7 separate regions of the Homo sapiens genome follow, and regions 1, 2, 3, 4, 6 and 7 are each linked to region 5. The links are contacts of gene promoters, found by promoter capture Hi-C in blood cells and fetal thymus (Javierre and others, 2016). All regions are on one chromosome and are shown on one strand. The core of a region is centred on a gene start or on the middle of the fragment in contact, and the rest is flanking DNA. Distances in the headings are between cores, read along the strand shown. Region 1 overlaps RARS1 (arginyl-tRNA synthetase 1). Region 2 overlaps RNF145 (ring finger protein 145). Region 3 has its middle 54 kb from the start of LINC01845. Region 4 overlaps TTC1 (tetratricopeptide repeat domain 1). Region 5 holds the start of MAT2B (methionine adenosyltransferase 2 non-catalytic beta subunit). Region 6 holds the start of UBLCP1 (ubiquitin like domain containing CTD phosphatase 1). Region 7 holds the start of PWWP2A (PWWP domain containing 2A).

Evidence for each region. The method cuts DNA at HindIII sites, captures the fragments that hold promoters and counts their contacts. A CHiCAGO score of 5 or more calls a contact.
Region 1: a fragment that was not itself captured here is called in contact with the fragment with the promoter of MAT2B in region 5 in 3 of 17 cell types (naive CD4 T cells, non-activated CD4 T cells and total CD8 T cells); the score reaches 16.8 in naive CD4 T cells.
Region 2: a contact is called between a fragment that was not itself captured here and the fragment with the promoter of MAT2B in region 5, in 1 of 17 cell types (total CD8 T cells). The highest score is 7.3, in total CD8 T cells.
Region 3: a fragment that was not itself captured here is called in contact with the fragment with the promoter of MAT2B in region 5 in 1 of 17 cell types (total CD8 T cells); the score reaches 7.3 in total CD8 T cells.
Region 4: a contact is called between a fragment that was not itself captured here and the fragment with the promoter of MAT2B in region 5, in 1 of 17 cell types (naive CD4 T cells). The highest score is 6.4, in naive CD4 T cells.
Region 6: a fragment that was not itself captured here is called in contact with the fragment with the promoter of MAT2B in region 5 in 3 of 17 cell types (activated CD4 T cells, total CD8 T cells and total CD4 T cells); the score reaches 11.0 in activated CD4 T cells.
Region 7: the fragment with the promoter of PWWP2A here is called in contact with the fragment with the promoter of MAT2B in region 5 in 1 of 17 cell types (naive CD8 T cells); the score reaches 5.5 in naive CD8 T cells.

What each region holds. Positions count from the first base shown.
Region 1 is chr5:168,487,161-168,490,336 of GRCh38, reverse strand. It overlaps RARS1 (arginyl-tRNA synthetase 1), which reads right to left. Exons shown (of 15, transcript NM_002887.4): 2 at 1,601-1,735. Among named protein-coding and RNA genes, the nearest start is that of RARS1, 2.3 kb to the right of the region's middle. The HindIII fragment of the contact is 1,788 bases long and covers 803-2,590 here.
Region 2 is chr5:159,200,503-159,203,623 of GRCh38, reverse strand. RNF145 (ring finger protein 145) reads left to right here. Exons shown (of 11, transcript NM_001199383.2): 2 at 1-190. The coding sequence starts at 7. Among named protein-coding and RNA genes, the nearest start is that of RNF145, 7.5 kb to the left of the region's middle. The HindIII fragment of the contact is 2,432 bases long and covers 546-2,977 here.
Region 3 is chr5:159,410,466-159,413,485 of GRCh38, reverse strand. No RefSeq gene overlaps it. Among named protein-coding and RNA genes, the nearest start is that of LINC01845, 54 kb to the left of the region's middle. The HindIII fragment of the contact is 487 bases long and covers 1,194-1,680 here.
Region 4 is chr5:160,018,572-160,021,555 of GRCh38, reverse strand. All of the region lies in intron 2 of TTC1 (tetratricopeptide repeat domain 1), which reads right to left. It overlaps LOC124901124 (a long non-coding RNA gene), which reads right to left. Exons shown (of 2, transcript XR_007059025.1): 1 at 2,525-2,984. Among named protein-coding and RNA genes, the nearest start is that of TTC1, 11 kb to the right of the region's middle. The HindIII fragment of the contact is 1,261 bases long and covers 998-2,258 here.
Region 5 is chr5:163,504,184-163,507,264 of GRCh38, reverse strand. It overlaps MAT2B (methionine adenosyltransferase 2 non-catalytic beta subunit), which reads right to left and starts at 1,646. Exons shown (of 7, transcript NM_013283.5): 1 at 1,516-1,646. The coding sequence starts at 1,578. RefSeq lists a silencer at 1,330-1,469 and enhancers at 1,640-1,759, 1,800-1,889, 1,107-1,913. The HindIII fragment of the contact is 7,455 bases long and covers 483-3,081 here.
Region 6 is chr5:159,263,062-159,265,988 of GRCh38, reverse strand. UBLCP1 (ubiquitin like domain containing CTD phosphatase 1) reads right to left here and starts at 2,699. Exons shown (of 11, transcript NM_145049.5): 1 at 2,629-2,699. RefSeq lists enhancers at 2,459-2,927, 2,723-2,927. The HindIII fragment of the contact is 1,429 bases long and covers 574-2,002 here.
Region 7 is chr5:160,118,002-160,120,943 of GRCh38, reverse strand. It overlaps PWWP2A (PWWP domain containing 2A), which reads left to right and starts at 1,494. Exons shown (of 2, transcript NM_001130864.2): 1 at 1,494-2,139. The coding sequence starts at 1,556. RefSeq lists silencers at 1,369-1,418, 1,579-1,678, 1,779-1,958, 2,079-2,498 and an enhancer at 1,443-1,942. The HindIII fragment of the contact is 17,972 bases long and covers 1-2,942 here.

The DNA.
Region 1 (3,176 bases), core at 447-2,946, 5.0 Mb before region 5:
ATATTAGACATTTAATAATACTTTTGAATTAAAATAAATATAACAGAGAATTAAACATATATAAGTGTAGAATGAATGACATAACGAGAAAGGTGAGATTCTTTTGGGAAGATTCTATGGAAAAGGAATTTTGTGATTCTAGAAGACTCAAAGACAAGCACAGCAGATCACATATAGGTAATATGAGACTCGAGCATAGCAGATCACAAATAGGAAATATGGACACCGGGCACGGTGGCTCACGCCTGTAATCCCAGCACTTTGGGAAGGCGAGACAGGCAGATCACCTGAGGTCAGGAGTTCCAGACCAGCCTGACCAACATGGAGAAACCTCGTCTCTACTAAAAATACAAAATTAACCAGGTGTGGTGGTGCATGCCTGTAATCCCAGCTACTGGGGAGGCTGAGGCAGGAGAATTGCTTGAACCTGGGAGGTGGAGGTTATTGTGAGCTGAGATTGTGCCATTGCAATCCAGCCTGAGCAACAAGAGTGAGACTCCGTCTCAAAAAAAAAAAAAAAAAAAGATAATATGAGAGATGTCATGGGAGTGGGGAAGATAGAGTCTAAGGTGAGTAAATGGATCAATCAGCTTTGGGAAAAGGATGTAATGCCTGCAGAGTTTGTCTGACAGTAATATATACACACAGGAGAATAATTATGGGAATGAGGTCAACACTCTGGGATATGTCATCACCAAATACGAAAGGCAGGCCAAAAAACTGCAGCAAGTTCATTTTTTTAAAACAAAATTGGTAAAACACTGTTAAATCATGAGACCATTAAATAAACATAGCACAAGCTTCATGGGGAAAAAAAGTGTTTTGAAATACCAGGTGGAAAAAACCCCAAATGATTATGTAAGATATAAAACTGTAAAATAACCAACTTAGGGCAGAGAAAATATGCAGGTGTATTTTCAAATATTTCCTTTATGATAGAGGCAATGATTTAAAAATCAAACATGTTTTTTTAAAAAAGGCATGGGCATAAACTGTTGAAAGAAATGCCTCAACCTTGCTGGGTGCAGTAGGTTATACTTGTAATTCCAACACTTTGGGAGGCCAAGACAGGGAGGGTTGCTTGAAGCCAGGAATTCCGAGGCCAGCCTGGCCAACACAGCAAGACCCCATCTCTATTAAAAAAAAAAAATTAGCTGGATGTGGTGGCACACGCCTGTAGTCCCAGCCACTCAGGAGGCTGTGGTGGGATGACTGCTTGAGCCTGAAGGTTGAGGCTGTACTGAGCCGTGATGATGCCACCACACTCTGGCCTGAGTGACAGACACCCTGTCTCAAAAAATAATAAATAAATTTTTAAAAAGAAATGCCTCAACCCTACCTAAATCCTACTTTAAGTTAGCCAAACAGTTAGCAGGATGAAACATTTCAAAGAGTCCTGAAGGACAGGACAACACCAACTTGTCACTATTTGCACCAACTACCTCAGTCCTAAGTTGTCTAATGCAGGGAAAAGAATAGGGTTTCTATGCTTCTTTTCCAAATTCCATAGGATATACTTCCAGAATCTTTGGTAACAAAGGCTTTAAAAAAGCTATAATGATTCAAACTGGAGAATAAAACTGGAACCCAAAGTACTCACCTTTCGAAGAATATTCAGTCGATACTTTAATTTTAAATTTTCTTCTTGTAACTGCTCCAAATTTGGAGAAGCTCCTAAACAGCCACAGTTTTTCAACCGGTCAATTTCAGCAGTCAGAGATTTAATCTCTTCTTCCTGTGGGAAAAAAAGCACTTTTTTCAGTCCATAAACTTACTTCCACATTTCCCCTCTCTACCAAGGCGTGGCATAGACCATGGGAATCATTAATGTTCCCTTTGATGAGCTGTGTTTCTTTCTCCTCTGAGATTTTTGCTGACGTTAGCATATTATCCTTAATAAGAAAATATTGGCCAGGCATGGTGGCTCACGCCTGTAATCCCAGCACTTTGGGAGGCCTAGGCAGGTGGATGACTTGAGGCCAAGAGTTCAAGACCAGCATGGCAAACATAGCGAAACGCTGTCTCTACTAAAAATACAAAAATTAGCTAGGCATGGTGGCGCATGCCTGTAATCCTAGCTACTTGGGAGGCTGAGGCAGGAGAATTGCCTGAATCCCAGAGGCTGAGGTTGCGGTGAGTCGAGATCGTGCCACTGCACTCCAGTCTGCTTGACAGAGCGAGACTCTGTTTCAAAAAAAAAGAAAAAGAAAAAGAATATATTAACCACACATACATGTGTTTTGGGAGACAGGAATCGGAGTAAGTATATAATGGGATATGCCTCATGTCTCATATCCCTAGTTCTTTTCTTTGGCTCGATAAACACTCTGATTTAGCAAGAGTAGTTAAGTTTCAGGTTGACCAACCTGCTTTTATTCCCAAATCCTATGACCTGGGACTCTTAAAAAACCCAAATGTCCTTTGTCACATTCAAAATAGCTCAAGGGTCTGCCTTTCACCCTTTCTGGGACTAAACAATTTTCCCATTTCTTCCTGTTTCCAGTGTCTTAGGTCCTAGACTAGACCAGACCAGGCTTTGTAGTTTAACATCTAAAACTAAAGACATGTCAATTCAGAAAGAAATAAAGCTTCCAACTTAAACTGCAAAACTCAGGGGGAGTTCCTCACCTGAAATTTCAGAATACTTACTGGGAGATAGCTACAGCCAAAACCAAATTGCCAAAAATGAGCATACATTATGTTCCAGGAGCTGAGCTAAAAACACTTTTCAGAAATTACCTTCATGATTATCACAACCAAGTGAGGCAAAGATAAATACATACCGATAAATAAATGGCTCAGAAATGTAAAGAGCTTGCCAATTTACTTGACTAACTTGTACTTTGTGACTGCTGATTAAGTATACAGCCGTAACAGGACAGAGTACTGTGAACTATCTTCCTACCATCCCTCCCCACCTGGGCATAAAAGGTAATGGAACTGTTCCGCTTTCACTTTTTTTTTTTGTAGGGGGACGGAGTCTCACTCTGTCGCCCAGGCTGTGGTGCAGTGGTGTGCTCTCTGCTCACTGCAAGCTCCGCCTCCCGGGTTCACGCCATTCTCCTGCCTCAGCCTCCCGAGTAGCTAGGAATACAGGGACCCCCCCCAACACAGCCGGTTAAGTTTTTTTGTATTTTCAGTAGAGACGGAGTTTCACTGTGTTAGCCAGGATGGTC
Region 2 (3,121 bases), core at 512-3,011, 4.3 Mb after region 5:
AACAACATGGCTGCAAAGGAGAAACTGGAGGCAGTGTTAAATGTGGCCCTGAGGGTGCCAAGCATCATGCTGTTGGATGTCCTGTACAGATGGGATGTCAGCTCCTTTTTCCAGCAGATCCAAAGAAGTAGCCTTAGTAATAACCCTCTTTTCCAGTATAAGTATTTGGCTCTTAATATGCATTATGTAGGTGAGTGTCTACATCACATTTTCTAATCTTCTAGTGAGCATTCTGATTTATGTCTTAGTATCTTTTTGAATTTGGGTAAAATGAAGTTCATTTTCATTAAGATGATAGTGATATAGTTATTGATGAGTGTTTATGAATCTTGATAGTTTTGTCTTATCATTGCACATGAATTATTAAGGCTACAAGAAAGTAAGCAGTATTGGATTTATTTTACTGGATAAAACTGGAAGGCAGAAGAAAACATTCTAGATTTTAATATGATGAAATATAAACAATGAGAAATACTTTTAGAGACATTTGGCCCCTTCTAATTTGTCCTTGTTTTGGGGTTTGGTAGTAATTCAGAAAGTAAGCTTTTTAAAATGCAACATTCTTTATTGTTCCCTGAGATAAACGAAAACATTAACATCAGCTGAAGATAAAGTGTTCAGTTAAATGAAATTTGGGAAATGATACTATAATACTTTGTTCCATAAAAAAAATCCTCCTGGAACTATAATTTTTTTTTTTTTTGCTTGAATCCCCTTTCAAGAAAAATGGAACTATCATTGATATGCTATGGGGTTAGTGGTAAAAATAATGATAAGAGATTGAAGAAATTAAAGTCAAGAAATACAAGCATGAAACAGATAAAATTTACCTAGAATAAAAATCATGATCCTTACTTTTTAGGTTTTGGTTTATTTGTAATGTATATAGCAATATATTTTATTAATGTTGTGATTGCAGAGTTCCAGACATGGTTTGAATGGTACTATAGTGGTTTTGCTAATATTTTATTATTAGAGTTGCCTGTCACAAAATATATCTTTTATAAAGTCATGAAGAGTTGTCCTGTCTCTCTGAGATTTATTTTTATCACTTTCTGGGTTCTAAAACTTAGCCCTGAGAACGTTCCCCTTACATCCCTAAGAGGTAAGCTGTTGTGGAAAGAAGTATGATGTAGTAGAAGAGATGGTGCACTAGAAACAAAACGTTTCGGTTCAGTAAACTCATCTTTTGTGGATAGCACTACCTTGGGAATGTCTCTGAAATGGGAAAGTTCCTTTATGTTGCAAAACACTGTAATTCTCAGCCTTTTATGAAAGGCTTTGTATGTTAGCCAATTTATGGAAAGTAATTCCCGTCAGTTGTAGAACAACTGGGTACTTGGCTTAGATTTTTAGATTAATCAGCAAAGTCATACATACTGTGGTTTTAAAAATGTGCTTATATATTGTTTCTGAATAGGTTGAAATATTTATTATAAAAACAGCTGCCTGATAACCAGGAATATTAATTTTAGAAATTGAATGTTTTCGAGTACAATTGAAGTTCATAATCTGGTTTATAATTTTATAAAGTTAGTTGAGCCATCTTAAATATGCTTACTCCATGCCAAAGTAGAGTAAGCTCAGTGGTTGCATGAACAGATATTTTCAGCTTGAACAATGTTTTGGTTGGAGTTACCTTTGTCAAAATATTACATAGTGTTTATGTAATGCTCCTGTTTACAGAATTTCACCCTCAAATACAAATCAAATTTCACCTTAATAAAATAATGTATCTACATTCAGAAATAAAAAAGCATAAAAAGTATTTAATGAAAAGTATCTCCCTCCCATCTCTGTTACTCATTCGCTGAGTTCTCACTCTGAACACCATGTAGCTTTTATTTCTTTCTGTATAATTCTAGAGATATTTTTATGTATATATAAGTAAATATAAAAAATGTATATTTCCCCCCTTTTTATACAGATGTTAGCATGGTATACATGGTTTTGAATCATGGTTTTTGTTTGTGATGTATGTGGAGCCATAACTACTGCTTTTAGATATTTATGAAATAGAGTTTTGTGCTCTTTTTCTTATGATGACAGTCTGCCGGATCTTAAAGACTCTCTTGAGTAGATATCGAGGCCTCATTTCTCCTCTTCCCGATTGCATTTTACGTTGGCATAGTATCTTCGTATGGATATACCATAATTTATTGAACTAATTACTCCATTGGTGGACATTTTAGATAGCCTACCTTCTGCTATTTTGTACAGCGTTGTGCTAAATAACTTTGTATAGCTATAATTTCAACAAGTACAAATATAACCTGGGGCTAAGTTACTAGAAGCGAAGTTGCTGGGTTAAAGAGTACAGTGGTCCGTCGGTGTATGCTGGAAGTTGGTTCCAGGATGCCCACGTATACCAAAATCTGCGCATACTCAGGTCCCTCAAGTGACCCTGTGGAACTATGTATGCAGAAGGTTGGCCCTCTGTATACGTGGGTTTTGCATGTTGCAAATACTGTATTCCATAAGAGTTTGGTTGTAAAAAATCTACATGTAAGTGGACCCTCACAGTTCCATCCTATGTTGTTCAAGGGTTAACTTATATATATTTGTAGTGTTGACAGATAGTACTTTCCATAGGGTTTTACTATTTTGTACCTCCAAAAACCGTGGTTGAGAGTTCCTACAATCCTATATTATCAAAACAGCCTGTTACCACAAATATTTTGGCTACTCCAATAGGTGGAAAAATTGATTTTTTTAACTCAATGTAGTTTTAGTTTGCATTTCTATTATGAATGAATTGAACATACACATACTTAAGAAAAACCTGTATTTTCTCTTCTGAGAGTTGTCAGTTTATATACCCTGCCCACTTTTCTGTGAGATTCTTTTTTTACCAATTTGTGGGAATTTGGTATACATTAGGGAAATTAATCCTTTGTGATAAGTTGAAAATAGTTTTTCCAGTTTCAACTCAGTGATTTTGCTTATGATTTTTTGACATTTAGAAGGTTTTTAAGCTTTAGTATTTTGAGTCAATTAGAAAAGCCTTCTTTATTCTTGAGTTTATAAAGAATTCTGTTGTATTTTATCTTACTATTTTTGTGGGTTTATTTTTACATTTAAATCTTTGCTTCATTTATCTGTATGAATAGTGTGTTATAGG
Region 3 (3,020 bases), core at 188-2,687, 4.1 Mb after region 5:
GTGAAGGGGGTTTTTTTAGTGAATTTTTTTTTTTTTTTTTTTTTTTAGAGACGGAGTCTCACTGTGTTACCCAGGCTGGCCTCTAACTCCTGGGTTCAAGCCGCCCTCCCACCTCAGCCTCCTAAGTAGCTAGGGCTACAGGAATGCACCACTGCACCCAGCTTCAATGTGGTTTGAATTTTTATTACTCTTTTTTTAATGAATCTTTTCTGATGGTTAATAGCCATTTGTATTTTTTTCTCCGTAAATTAATACTTTAAGCTCTTTCTCATATACGTAAATTTTTAAAACATGCATACTGATTGTTTATAGCCATGAACATGCATAATGAAGGGTGGGAGAGAAACTCTAACCTCAATTGAGAGGCTGCTGCTGGCAAGGATGGCAGGCGGGTGGGACAGGGCAGACAGCAGAGACACAAAGGGATTATCGATGAGGGGGTAACATTTTATTTCTTTAAAAAAAAAGCACATGAAGCAAGAAAGAAAATTGAAAAAAAAAAAAAGGAAGCAAGGGAGGGAAAGAGAAGACAAGCTTTAAAATCAGTAAAGCTGGGCTTGAATCTCAGCCACAACACATGCTCTGTGGCCTTTCAAAGCTCTCATAACCTCTCTCATTCTCAATTTCCGCATCTCTAGGATGTAGAGAATTTAATGACTAAAGATAATCCATGTAAAACCATGATTAGCACATCATTGTTGCTAAACAGTCATATTACATTGTTAATTTGATTATTATTCAAATGTATATGATGCCTCAAGCCAAGAGAAAGGGTCTGGTGGCTTTTCCTGGCTCAACTACCTTTTTCCTGTTAGGTTTCCCCAGGGGGTAGCCTCTTGTTGGTGACATCATGCCAGCGGTTTCACCCTCTCTTGACTATTTTCCAAATGTCCTCCCCAGAGCTGCCCCTGTTGGTGTAACTGGCGTGACTGAGAGAAGCAAGGATGTGCTTGGGGTAGGGCTGGGAGGGGGAGTTTCCTCTGTGTCGCAACCACTGTTTCCAAAAGCTGTGACCTCTGTTAGCTGTGAGATTTTGTCTTCCTGTTGTGGCAACATCTGTAGAACCACATCCATGGTTTACCTGCAGCCTAAAACGCCCTGGCCTCGGAGGAAGCTAACACCTCTTTCTCCTTAGTTTGCATTACCTCAACAAGCAGTAGGCTGCCCCACCACACCCACCACACCCCAAAGCTTCTTGATGCCTTGTTTTTCCAAAGCCTCAGAGACACAGAAAAGTTATTCCTTTGCTGTAAACTCCTTTTATCAGAACAGAAATGATTAGAGCAATGAATTTGGTACACACCTTTTTCCCATCTTTGAATTATTTTCTGAGTTGAAATGGTTTCTATTCTTTTTCATTATTTTGATCCTAAAACATCAGAACACTAGAAAGGAGAGAAGAGACAAAGGAAGAAAAAGAAAAAAAGAGGATTGCCGAGGCAGAAAGAAGAAAAAAAATAGGGTTGAAACAGATGGTGTCCTGCCAGAGTCACCTCTTAGGCCCTGGAGACAAGCTCCAGAAATAATCTAAAGGCCTACGTTGGACACCAGGTCCTTCCTTAGTGGCTGAACCTTTGCTCTCAGAGACCAAATAGCTCTTGTATAGCTAATGCCCAGCTATAAGTGAGAGAATGCTGGGTGAGCTTAAAGGAACACCCCTTCTAATAACATCTGGAAGCTTCACCAAACCAGCAAAGACAATGTCCTTCAATTATAATTGCAGCGATGAACCAATAACCCATCAACCAAATCATGAACATCATGGAGAAAGGAATTACTGTTTTTCACAGAGGTGAAGATCGCTTTATCTTTGGCAGAACTGATCTGAAGGGAAATTGTAAGAGACATGAAATTTAACTTTCCTGGCATTTGTGAATATTTCTTCTTTTAATAACCTGGATTCCATGAAACCAGGAACCTCTTTCTGTAGCATCCCTTGCAGGCCTGCCATCACATTTACTGCCAGTGCCTCACCTCTCTTGCCTTCATCCAAATTTCCCTTTCATTGGCCTAGTTTTCTGGAGCTCTTTGCTGGGAGACAGACAACTGCCTGTTCTGAGAAACCATTCCATTCTAAAGTGATAATGGATGCTGCAATAGGTAGAATAATAACCCCTCCAAATATATCCATGACCTAATCCCCAGAATCTTTGAATATGTTACGACATAGCAAAGGGGACTGTGCAAATGAGATTAAGGTTAAGTACTCTGAGATTATCCCGCATTACCCAGGACAGCCTAATCCAACCACGAGTCCTTAAAAACGGGGTCAGTTTCCTTAAAAATGAGTCAGAGAGGTGAGAGGAAAGAAGAGTTTCTGACTTTGAAGATGGCAGAATTGGGCGTGAGTCAAGGAATTCGGGTGGCCTCTAGAAGCTGGGAATGTCCCTCAGTGATAGCCAGCAAGGAAACAACATCTCAGTCCTACAACCAGAGGAAATGAATTTTGCCAGCGACCTGAATGCGCAAGGAAAGAGATCCTCCCCTAGAGCTTTCAGAAGGCACATACCCCTGCTGACACCTTGATTTTAGCCCAGTGAGACCATGTCAGACCCACAGAACTGTAAGAGAATAACTTTGCATTGTTTAAACTACAATACTTGTGGAAATCTGGGGTGTTTTTTTTTTTTTCTAGCAACAGTGCTAACATGAGACTCAGTCAGTAGGGATTTCAGTTTGTTTTCTAAAGCAACCATTACGGTACAACGTGGGGGAAAAAATGTGTGCATTTTGGAGCAAGCAAGTTGTTTTGCCACAGTTTGTGGTCAGGTGTGTACACATTCATCTGTCCAATAAACATTTATGGAATGCCTACTATGTACTAGGCACATAGCTCCCTACACATATGCTTCCTTTTAGATCATATCTACATAAGTGGATTCAGTCAGCCAGCAAGTCAACAAATGTTCACTGAGCATCTACTATGTACTAGGTACAAGGACAACTCAATTGGGATTCACTGAAAGGTTCTTTAAGCTGTGTGCCTGGGGAGCCTGAGATTCCAAATTATGCAAAGTAAG
Region 4 (2,984 bases), core at 379-2,878, 3.5 Mb after region 5:
GGAAAAAAATGACTGATCTATGAGGAATTAATCTTGGAAATAGTCCCTTGTTTCTTAAATCAGAAAATTCTATTTCCCAAAACTCAATCTTTAACAGAAATAAATTTTCTATGTCAGGACTGCTTAAATTCGGCCCAACAAGTTGTTTTTAGACCTTGATCAACGGATGTAGGTAAAAGAAAACCTCCTATTCAGTTCTTCCGATGTTGGATGCAGTCAATGTACGGGTTAGGTCAATACTTCTTGTTTTGGAAGCTTAGTCATCTGTGTCCATCTGGATCTGTTTCCCATGGTGTGGCCACAGTTCTTCCTATATCAAAATTACCTGGGAGGCTTGCTAACAAAACAGATGCCTGGTTGTTGCCTCACAGGTGTGTGGTGTCAGACACTTCTCAGGCTGTGCATGGTTAATACATTTCCTGTGATGCTTAGACACAATAAAGTCTGGAAACCACTGATCTACACAAAGTGACCTTTCTTAATAAACACAGGAAATACTGAACGTCATTTTAACTTTTCTGCCAGCAAATAATGTAAACACACCTCACTAACTTCCAAATGTTTTAGAGCAGCGGTCCCTACCCTTTTTGGCACCAGGGACTGCTCTTGTGGGGAACTATTTTTCCACGGACTAGGGTCTTGGGGAAGGGGGTGTTCATAATGATTCAAGCACATTACATTTATTGTGTACTTTATAATTATTAAACTGTAATATATAATCAAATAGTTATACAATTCACCATAATGTAGAATCAGTGGGAGCCCTAAGCTTGTTTTCCTGCAACTAGACGGTCCTACCTGGGGGTGATGAGAGACAGTGATAGACTATCAGGCATTAGATTCTTGTAAGGAGCAGGCAACACAGATCCCTTGCATGTGCAATTCACAACAGGGTTCACAAGCCTACGAGAATCTAATGCTACCATGGATATGACATGAGGTGGAGCTCAGACAGTAATGCAAGCGATGGGAAGTGGCTGTAAATACAGATGAAGCTTCGCTCACTAGCCTGCTGCTCACTTCCTGCTGTGTGGCTGGGTTCCTTACAGGCCACAGACTGGTATCAGTACATGGCCGGGGGTTGACGACCCCTGTTTTAGAGCAAGCAACCCTTATTTCCACTGGTTTAAACTTAGCATCAGGCCAGGCAGGGTGGTTCATTCCTGTAATCCCAGCACTTTGGGAGGCCAAGTGAAAGGGCCTCTACAAAAATAAAAATAAACAAACTTGGGATCAGAAATCTAAGCTCCTTCTAGGATTTGATTTAATCGTTTGTAGACAGCATTAAGTTCAACAGTGGTAACTCTAAGAAGTTGGTAAAACTGACCACCTTAGTTCCAAAGGATGCCTATTAGAAATGAAAGAAAAGGAGGCTGGGGCGGGCGGATCACTTGAGGTCAGGAGTTCGAGACCAGCCTGGCCAACATGGTGAAACTCCGTCTCTACTAAAAATACAAAAATTAGCTGGGTGTGGTGGTGGGCACCTGTAATCCCAGCTACTTGGGAGGCTGAGGCAGGAGAATCACTTGAACCTGGGAGGCAGAGGTTGCAGTGAACCAAGATCATGCCACTGTACTCCAGTCTGGGCGACAGGGCAAGACTCTGTCTCAAAATAAACAAACAGAAAACAACAACAACAAAAAGAAAACAAGAAATGAAAGAAAAGGGAGGCAGGAGGCAGGGCACAGTGGCTCATGCCTATAATCCCAGAACTTTGGGAGGCCGAGGTGGGTGGATCATGATGTGAGTTCGAGACCAGCCTGGCCAATATGGTGAAACCCAGTCTCTAGTAAAAATACAAAAATTAGCTGGGTGTGGTGGCACACGCCTGTAGCCCCAGCTACTCGGGAGGCAGAGAGAGAATCGCTTGAATCCGGGAGGCGGAGGTTGCAGTGAGCAGAGATCGCACCGCTGCACTCCAGCTTGGGCAACAGAGAGGGAATATCCATCTCAAAAAAAAAAAAAAAAAAAAAAAGAATGAAAGAAAAGGGAAACAACAAAATCAGAAAGGTTGCTCATGACGTTAACAGGACTATGCAGGCCACTATGGAAGAAGTTACTGAGAACTTTTTGGAAGCAATCGAGAGTATTCCCTGCAAACACATCCACAGCCACAACATTAATTAGATTATGAAAATGGTGCAATAGGGTGGCAGAAACATGGAAATCCAAAAGATTAAGTAATGTGGAATTTAGGAAAAATGACAGAGGGAAGAGACTGAAATATAACATCTGTTCTAAACTGAAACTTCTAAGCTTTGATAATGGTTCCTAAAGAGAAAATGACCTTAAAGAATAATCCTTAAAACTTTCAGAGCCTAATGTTTTAAAATCCCAGATACCAGGCATTCTGAATCCATGTTCACCAAGCAACAGACTTTTGGATCCCTTATGTGTACATGTAAATGAATACCATTTGCAAACCACTAGTGAAAGGGAGCAAACCCATTGAAATGACTAAATCTGCATTTTGGCTTACAAATAAAAAATGTTTGTTTGCAGGAAAGAATTAAATCACCAGAACCTGGATAAGTTCAAAGTTCCTTCATCTTCTTCATATTAATAAAGGCCACACCATCCATCCAGTAGCTGAAGACAAGGAATCATTCTAACGTCTCACTCCATCCCGCCAATCGAATCCACTGCAATGTGTGGTCTGCTTTACCTCTGAAATATATCCCAAAATCATACACTTCTCTTCAGATCCACAGTTCAAGCTACTATCATCTTCACTGGGCTACTGCATTAGAGCCTAATTGGGCTCAAATGTTCTATTCATGTCCCTCCTCCATCCTCATACCCCTCCATTCTCTGTATAAGAACTGAATTCTCTTATTAAAATGTAAATAACTTCCGTCTCTCCCTGGCTTAAAATTATCCATCTGTTTCCTTCTGCACTTGGAAAAAACTTCAAGTTCTTTACTACGGCTTAGGAACTATTCCATAATCAGACCCTTGCCTACTATCAGCCCACTCTCTTCCTT
Region 5 (3,081 bases), core at 397-2,896:
TTTAGCACACCTGCATTAATGTCTACTAAAAATGTTCTAGAAAAGTAAAGAATGGAATACTATTAGTATGTGGTTTTCCCAAATTTCAGTGGTAAATACCTTGTCGTTTTTGGAAACTTTAAAACTTGGCACAGTTCCATGTTTAATTTTTTAATTCCCCAGAAACAGACCCTTAAGGTAAACATTACTGGGCTTTACTTTTTAAGATTCTCTGACTACTTAGGTGGGATTGGTCTAACTTCTACTGCGACGCTACTGTGCTCCACAGACAGTATTACTAACAACAACCACTCCAGGATGCTTCTCTAACGTTAACTATGAGACAGTTCTCGTTCTCATGAGTCAGTAAGCTTTAATTCTACAGGTTTTGAGAGCAGTAAGTCTGTGCCAAGCTCTTCGTTGTTTCATTTTTAATGAAGGAAAACACGAAAAGCTATTTTCATTTTTATACTGAACTTCTTTTTGTGAAAGTAGATTAAGCTTTATATGCACACGTACACATACAAATGCATACATATAAATGTAAACGTATGTAACATGCACTCAGCACGGTCTGGAGGACCTAGGAACATAGAGGTTTAATAGACCATTTATCCTAACTTTACCCTCAAAGAACCAAAGTGATTTGAAAACCCTAAGTAAATTTGGAAGCATGAAAACTTTGCAATAACAGAAACAGCCATCTCCTATATTCTCTACTCTCTCCAAAAGACATGGTCTGGGCATTAGTAGTGTTCTTATCCCCAGGGTTGGATATGTTCTGTGGACAGATTAATGCTGGAGGCCCTTAAGTGGAATGGAGCAGGATGGGACGGGGGCGAGGGGGGCACCAGAGATGGATCTTCCAATCATCACCATAATCTTCCTTCAGGGAAACTCCGTAGTGGTTCAAAGCCCAAGACAGTCACACAAACCTGTATCTGAATTCCAGGCTCCAACCTTACGGAATGAACCTGGGCCAATGTCTCACCCTCTATGCCCGTTTTCTCGTCTACAAAATGAGGCAATAACAAGTATCTCACAGTGGAGGATTAAAGTAATGCCCGTCAAGTGCATAACATAGTGCTGAGAACTTAAGAGTTCAATAAGTTGTCATCTCCAGCACTGTTATTTGTGAGAAGTCACCTTTTCCTGTTCTTTCTCAAACCTACGAACTTGTAAGATCGAGAAATACGAACCAAAGATGAATAAACGGGGAAAACCAAAATCAAAACAAACAATTCTGAAAAACCTCTTCGTCCTCAGGAGCAGAGACAGAACTCGAAAGTAAAACCTCCACCTACTTGCTTCCTGCCGCAGTGGCTGGAAGAAAAAAACACTGACCCGTGTGCGCTGAGATAAACAAACTCGGTGGCGCCCCCCTCGGATCCGGGGCTGGGAGGGTGGCGGTGAGACCACTCCCGGCCGGAGGCTCTGACCCGGGCGGAATACGCCTGCAAAGCCGCCCGAGCCCCGGTGGCTCGTCCCCCTCGGCGCCCCCGCTCCCACCGGAGACGCCCAGGCCGACTCCCTCACCTCCACCAGCCGACAGCTCCCGGGAACAAAGTGTATAGAGAGCTCTTTCTCCCGCCCCACCATGCCCGCCGTCTTCACGCCGCAGCCTCAGCGGCCGCCACCTCCTCCAACCCAGGATCGACGCGGGCCTCAGCTCAGACGCCCTCGGCCCGCCTCCCCTAGGCCCAGAACGACCCCGCTCGCCGCTTCCGGCTTCCGCTGCCATAGCCGCGCCCGTTGATTGGCCACGCTCCGCCGACGCCCCAGAAAGAGGGCGGGTACGCGCGGTCTGCCCCCAGCCCACGCGCCGATGCTTAAAGCGACACACAAAAGAAAGGCCCTGACCTTAGGCAGTGAATTCAGGTTTTGTTTCGGAGATTTTATTTGAGTGCTTTTTATTCTACTTTTTTTCCTTTTTTTCTTGACTCGGGAAAAGATTGAAGTGGATCGCCTTGAGTTTCAAGTTTGCAGACTGCGCAGTGCATGAGGATCGACTGAGCAATATAAAAAGTGGAATAAAAAGCATTTTAAAGTCATGGGGGCGGGGGCGGAGGTGGGTAGAGCATAATGGACACATCTCTAGAGCTCTAGGTGGGGGTTTTGAAAGATTTAGAAAAAGACAAGGAATAAAAATAAAAGGGTTGGCGTCTGAGCCATTTGTCTTCCTGGGATGCTTAAAAAAAGAAAAAACCTGTGTGTGAGATATCAAAAATGTAAAACTATTTTTAACTAATTAAAAATAAAAAGTTGTAGGGGGAAGGAAGATGAACTACTTAGGTACCTCTTCAAAACGCAGATCCTTGGACTTTACCCATAATTACAGAACAAGAAACGAGCCCGGGGTCCGACTTCTTAATGGGTTTAACCAGAATCAAGCCCACTCTTTAAGAAACACCGCCTCGGGGATTGCAGGATTGGGCCACACGAGCCCAGCCTTGGTGAGCACCGAGAATTTAAGCAGCAGCGTGTAAGGCTGGGCGTTCTACCACCTTTTAAAAGTTAAGCAGCCCTAAGTGCTGATGCCGACTTATTTCCCTTCCAGTTAAAAACCGCAAAAAATCCTCAGCCAGGCTGGACGCCTGTGAAATTGATGCAGAAAGTAAACCCTGGCACAGGCCGTGTAGGATTTGCCAACTTTGCACCGAACAGTCCAAGGGTTCTTGTGTGCCCAGGATAGCAAGCTCTAAACGTCGTCCACAAACGTGACCACTGTCTGGATTTTCCTAGGGCCTTTCCCCGACTCCTAAACCTTTTTGGTTTATTTTCAAACTAAAGACTAAGCAGCCTTTTAAAGAAGTTTTCCACGTCAGAACACCATGACTTTCCTTCCTCCTCAACCCCCAACAAAAACTCATTTCCTTATTCGTGTAAACATAAAGTTTCTCTAGAACAGTAATCGAAGACAGCCTGAGGTTTCTTATGTTCCGATTTTTTTTTTTTTTAAACACAGGCTATTACTGTTCATTAGTTTGGCTTTATTTAGGGAATCCTTGAGGACTGCCCCAGCGCTAAACAAGCATAATCAGGGGACAACAAAGAAGAGGGCGGGAAGAGGGCCGGGGGAGCAGCCAAGATCATCTTACTACT
Region 6 (2,927 bases), core at 39-2,538, 4.2 Mb after region 5:
CCCAAGGCTGGCCACAGTGGCTCATGCCTGTAATCCCAGAACTTTGGGAGGCTGAGGCAGGTGAATCACCTTAGGTCAGGAGTTCAAGACCAGCCTGGCCAATGTGGTGAAACCCCATCTCTACTAAAAATACAAAAAAAAATTAGCCAGAGGTGGTGGTGGGCGCCTGTAATCCCAGCTACTTACAGTTCCACAATGGCTAGGGAGGCCTCAGAATCATGGCAGAAGGTAAAAAGCACTTCTTACATGGCAGTGGCAAGAGAGAATGAGGAAGACAGAAAAGCGGAAACCCCTGATAAATCCATCAGATCTCATGAGACTTATTCACTTATTCACAAGAATAGCACGGGAAAAATCGGCCCCCATGATTCAATTACCTCCCACTGGGTCCCTCCCACAATAAGTGGGAATTCTGGGAGATACAATTCAAGTTGAGATTTTGGTAGGGACACAGCCAAACCATATCAATCAGAAAATACAAAACCCATGGGTACAGATCTAAGCACACAAAGATTATATAGTGGCTGCCACTCATGTAAATAACCAAACATATGTCTCTTCCTGCATAAAGCTTTCTATTTTTCATTAAACTCATTCCTCCCACAGTCCAGAGAACTGGATTTTCTAATCTCAAGGTATTGGTATTTCCAATGCTTTCACTTATTTGATGAAACATTTGATTGCACTCTTCATGCAACTATTAGGACCAACTGCAAGAAAGAGGTTAAATTTTTAATCTCCACTTCCAAAAATAATTTAAAAACAGTGTCTCCTACTAAAAGGCCAATTAGAAGAGAGAGCCATAAATTCATATTTATATTTACTCATATATGAATACAAATATGAACTATAAATGTATATTTACTCCTATGTTTACAATGTGTTCTACTGAAAATGTAAAGCAAGTGTCTTAATTTAGGGTAACGTATTCCATTTTAGACAGAACTATAACAAATGTTATATTCTTCAATTAAAAGTGGACCTTTTGAGTTAAACTGAAATACAGTTTAAATATTTTCTGTAAGACATAAGAATAAAAGGGAATCCTACGAGAGCTAGAAAGGCAACCAGCACTAATATCGCATATATTGTGATGCGTAGTAGTGCAGAGTTTGGAGTGAAATCATCTGAGTTCCAGGTGACCCTGGACAAGTGATTGCTCTTCTAGACTAGTGGTTTTCAAAGCATGGTCCCTGGGCTAACGAACAGCATTGACCTCACTTGGTAATTTGGTAGAAATGTAATTGGGGTGGAGAGAAGGGACCTAGGAATCTGTGTTTTAACAAGGTCAGTCCTCCTCACCTCTGATGAATGCTCAAATTTGAGAGTCAGTACTACAGGCTCTTCAATGTTTTCAGCCTTAAAAAAAATGTGCCAGAGGGCATGGGCTCTATATGGTTAATAAAGCAGCATAAAAACGTTACGAAGCACCTATCCCACAAGTGGAAATTCCAAGTTGGCAAATGCCTTAAAGGGCCAAGCGAAACAAACACCATAAAAATTGTAAATGCATATGTCTTTAAGATTTGTTTAAAAGTTACTGAACCTTATTTCATCATTAAGACCGTTCACACCAATGAAGCAGTGTGATATAAATGCATGAGCTATTTTGCTTTCACATTTAACCTTCTTTCTTAGTATTTTGTATCATTTCAGATCCCATCAGATTTATAAGCTGAAAAATGATTTGGGGTGTGGGGAGGAGTGAAGTTGGCAAACCCAAACAAGCAAGCAAAGAATACACTTCCATATGGTCAACCTAGGGTCAAGAATAGCTGTTTAGGTTGGAGTTCTACCTAACATACTGTGTTGACTTTGCCTAGTCAATCCACCTCTTGGCCTCAGTCTTCTCAACAAGATGAGGCTACTAATATTCACTGGACAGGAGTAGTGTTAAGGTATGAAGTAACACCTGTGACAGCACTTTGTAAACTGTAAAACACAATACAAATGGTGTTCATGATGGAATAAAAACATGCTAAACAATTATCTCATTGAAGCTTCACAATCCTGAACCAACAGCTGTTGTCCTCATTATACAAATGAGAATCCTGAAAAGAAATTAAACTTGCCCGGGACCACAAACCTAAAAAGTGGCAAATGAAGAAATTTTAAAGTATAGCAGTAAAAGTAACACTTTGGGAATTAACGGGAGGTTAACTTTCAACAATCCCAGCAAAAGATAACCGTGAAGCACTAAGAACTCCGGCGAGAACCGCACACCAGCAACAACTGCGAGGTGGTGCAGGGTCGGGGGCTGTGCTAACTGACTTAGGGGAGCATTAGGAGGCAGGTGGAGGCTCCAGAACCAAAAAGGCCGGGATGCCTTCAACAAGGAGGTTGAGGGGAGGGATGGACAAGCCTGAGAAGACGGAGGAATGAAGTTTGGGGACGCAAAACCCACTGGGAAACAGAAAGCCCTCCAAATAGGCTAGACTGCTGGATGGGAGGACAGCGGCCCCCGCGACTAAGCGGGCCGGGGCTAGGGGCCTGGGCGTCAGACTAGGACAGACACTATCCCCAGCCCGCCGCAGTGCAAGCCACGCCGCGCGGGCCGCAAAGCCACTGTCCCCGAGCCCCAACAGCGTCTCCAAGGGCAGCGCGCCAGGGTGCCCCGCAACCCCTCACCTGGAGCGCGGTGGAACCTGCGGCAGCGGACGCAGAAACCGGCCGCTGAGAGACCGAAAGCGACCGGAAGTGAAGGGCGGGACCGGAACCGGCTGAAAAACCGGAAGTGGGTGGTTTGAAACGGAAATATGTTGGGGACGGAACAACTGCTTCCTTTGAATCTCTTCGGGTGCTAATCAAATGGCCGCTGTAAGGGATCTCCACAAAGCCACGAAGAAGCCAGGCCTTTCCGAGACTGTAACCGCTGTGCAGATAGCGCCGATCCCTGGGTGGCCGCTCTCTCGTTCTGCGCGTGCGCT
Region 7 (2,942 bases), core at 245-2,744, 3.4 Mb after region 5:
TTTCTGTATTTTTAAATGATATTCTGAAACTTCCCTGATTGGGATCTTCTACTGGCCTTTCCCCACGAGCCACTTGGTTTGAAATAGGCAGAGCATATGGTGATATTTGTTTATTGCTATTTTCAGTCTTTTCCATGTAAAACTGAAATTCTGACTATGCAATTTACCAGCCGAGTAACCTTGGGCACCCTCTTTGTGCCTCAAAATTTTAAGGATTGAGATGATATGCTATAGTGTTTGTATTAGTGCCTGGTACATGGTACTCAAAAGACACTAGCTGTAATTATTCTTCAGGACTTTATTTTTTTTACTTTCATTGCTAGCAGTTTTTCTACCCTCTCTCCTGCAGGCATTCTCCCAGAAAAAAGGCTGACTCTGTGGTGCCATTTGAGAGAAATAGGTTCAGTAGATTCTTCCAGAGATGACAAACGAAAAGACTTGATGTGGAAGTAAGAGAAGTAGGGGCGTCAGGACACTGAAGTGAGAGATCTTTTGTTCTCGTGGCATTGGAGAAGCCAGGAAAGAAAAAGGCTTTAGCAGGGACCAGGTGCGTCCACTTTGCAAGTGGATTTGGAGAGAACAAGCAGTGTTCACATATCAGTCCAGCAATGTCTCAAGACTCCTTCCTGGAACAGTCATCAGTTTAATCCAGTGAGGATGGTGTCTCTCTTCTTTCATGAGCATTTTCCTATTTCTGAAATATTAATAAATAGGTGCTTTGTTCCTAGGAAGTGGAGAGAAGTCAAGGAAAATACTCATCATACTCCTAGAAGTCAAGGAAAATACTCCTCGTACTCCTCATGGCCGCTGGAGCCCGCTGCTATGAGGTTATGGAGAACGTCTTGAACATTCCATTCCCCAGCACCTAGTGCAGTGACTAGCATAGTAGGCACTCAAAAAGTGTCTGTAGGATTGTATTTCAAACTTTAGTTGTCTTTCCCAAAGAAGCCTGTCGTGCCCACACGCGGCCGCAAGAAGTCCGCGCCTAGAAATAACATTTATTCTAAGGATCTCTGCGCAGAGATTCTTGGGAAGCGGTTCCCCTCCCGCATTCCCTTGTTACTCCTCCCCTCGGCCGCCTTTGAAAGAAGTGGCACGCCACATGATTCCATCCTTTCTCCCACCTCCAAAGACCTGGCTGATAATGGGCAGGAGCGTAGGCCAACCATAAAACTTTATTTCCTCTTCCAGCCAATAGCAAGAGGCGATGAGTATATGGCTCCTCTTTTGTGACTTCCCCCGCCCCCTTTGATTCCGCCCCCTATTCCTCCACTCAGATTCCACACTTGACAACACATCTGGCCAATGAGAAGTTCCTACTCTGCGTGGGAAGGATGGACTGACTAGATGATAGACGTCCATCCCTGGCCAATGGAATATCAAAAGTGCGGGAGGGGTGTAGAATGCAACCAATGGCGAGGTGCCAGAAACGAGCATCAGGGAAAGGGCGGGACGAAAGTGTTCGCGGGAGGGAGGGGAAGGCCCAGGGAACCAAGCAGCGCTGTCGCCGCCGCCGCTGCAGCCGGAGTTGGAGGAGGGAGAAGCTAGGAAGAAAATGGCGGCCGTGGCTGCAGAGGCGGCAGCGACTGCAGCGTCCCCCGGGGAGGGGGGCGCCGGCGAGGCCGAGCCGGAGATGGAGCCCATCCCCGGCAGTGAGGCCGGCACTGACCCCCTCCCGGTCACGGCCACTGAAGCGTCTGTGCCGGATGGCGAGACTGACGGGCAGCAATCCGCTCCTCAGGCCGACGAGCCGCCGCTCCCGCCGCCACCGCCGCCGCCGGGGGAGCTCGCCCGCAGCCCAGAGGCGGTGGGGCCGGAGCTGGAGGCTGAGGAGAAACTGTCCGTTCGGGTGGCGGAGTCGGCGGCAGCCGCGCCTCAGGGAGGGCCGGAACTTCCACCTTCTCCTGCATCGCCGCCGGAGCAGCCCCCGGCTCCCGAGGAGCGCGAGGAGCCGCCGCTGCCTCAGCCCGTAGCCCCGGCGCTCGTGCCGCCGGCGGGCGGGGACTCCACGGTGTCGCAACTGATCCCGGGCTCGGAGGTGCGGGTCACGCTGGACCACATCATTGAGGACGCGCTTGTCGTGTCGTTCCGCTTCGGGGAGAAGCTCTTCTCCGGGGTCCTCATGGATCTGTCCAAAAGGTACCGCGCCCGCCCCCAGCACCCTCCGGTCCGCTGGGTCCCCAGGGAGGGAGTGAGCCCGGGCGGCCCCCTCTCCCCGAGCCCTCGCTTCCCCGCTGCCCGGGGCCCCGCCCTCTGGTCCTGCGCGGCGCGTGGCGCGCGCTCCGAGTGGGGCAGGCGCGCGAGACCGGGAGAGGGCGGTCCCGGCCCCAGGTGGGCGCCTGCGGGGCAGGTGTGCCACCAGGTGGGAGGGTGCAGGTGCAGATGGGCTCACAGGTCTCACCCCTCACGCCTGGTCTTCTTCTGCGACTTGGCCTGGAGTCACCGTCACTGGGCGGGTGGGTTAATGCAAGATGCAGATGGATTTTTGCAGAGAACGGAGTGTTGGACGGGGGGACGGGGGGGCGGGGGGCATTGCTTGCGAGGAGGCACTTGTCTGTCCTCTAACGTTTAACTTTAGCGGGATTGGAGAAAGGGGTGTGTACATTGGGGTTCCCAAAAGGTTACCTGTCACTCCTTACAGGGGGAAGAGCATTTGTTAAAATGAACCTTTTAACTGTAATTCTTACGGTTAGAAGTCATTCCCGTTAGGTTAACCATTCAACAGAGAAGCATATTTTGCTAATTTTAATGATAGTTTAAGAAAAGTTTAAAGAAGAGATTGGAGATTTTTAAAAAATCCTTTAATGTCAAGGTGGTGTAGCATAAAAATGTTCAAGTAACTTCTAACACCTGGGATTCAGTTTATGTATTAAGGACAAGAAGGTTGAGTTCATCTACAAATTTGGCTTAACCACATTTTCATTTTTTGATTTAAAATGTTT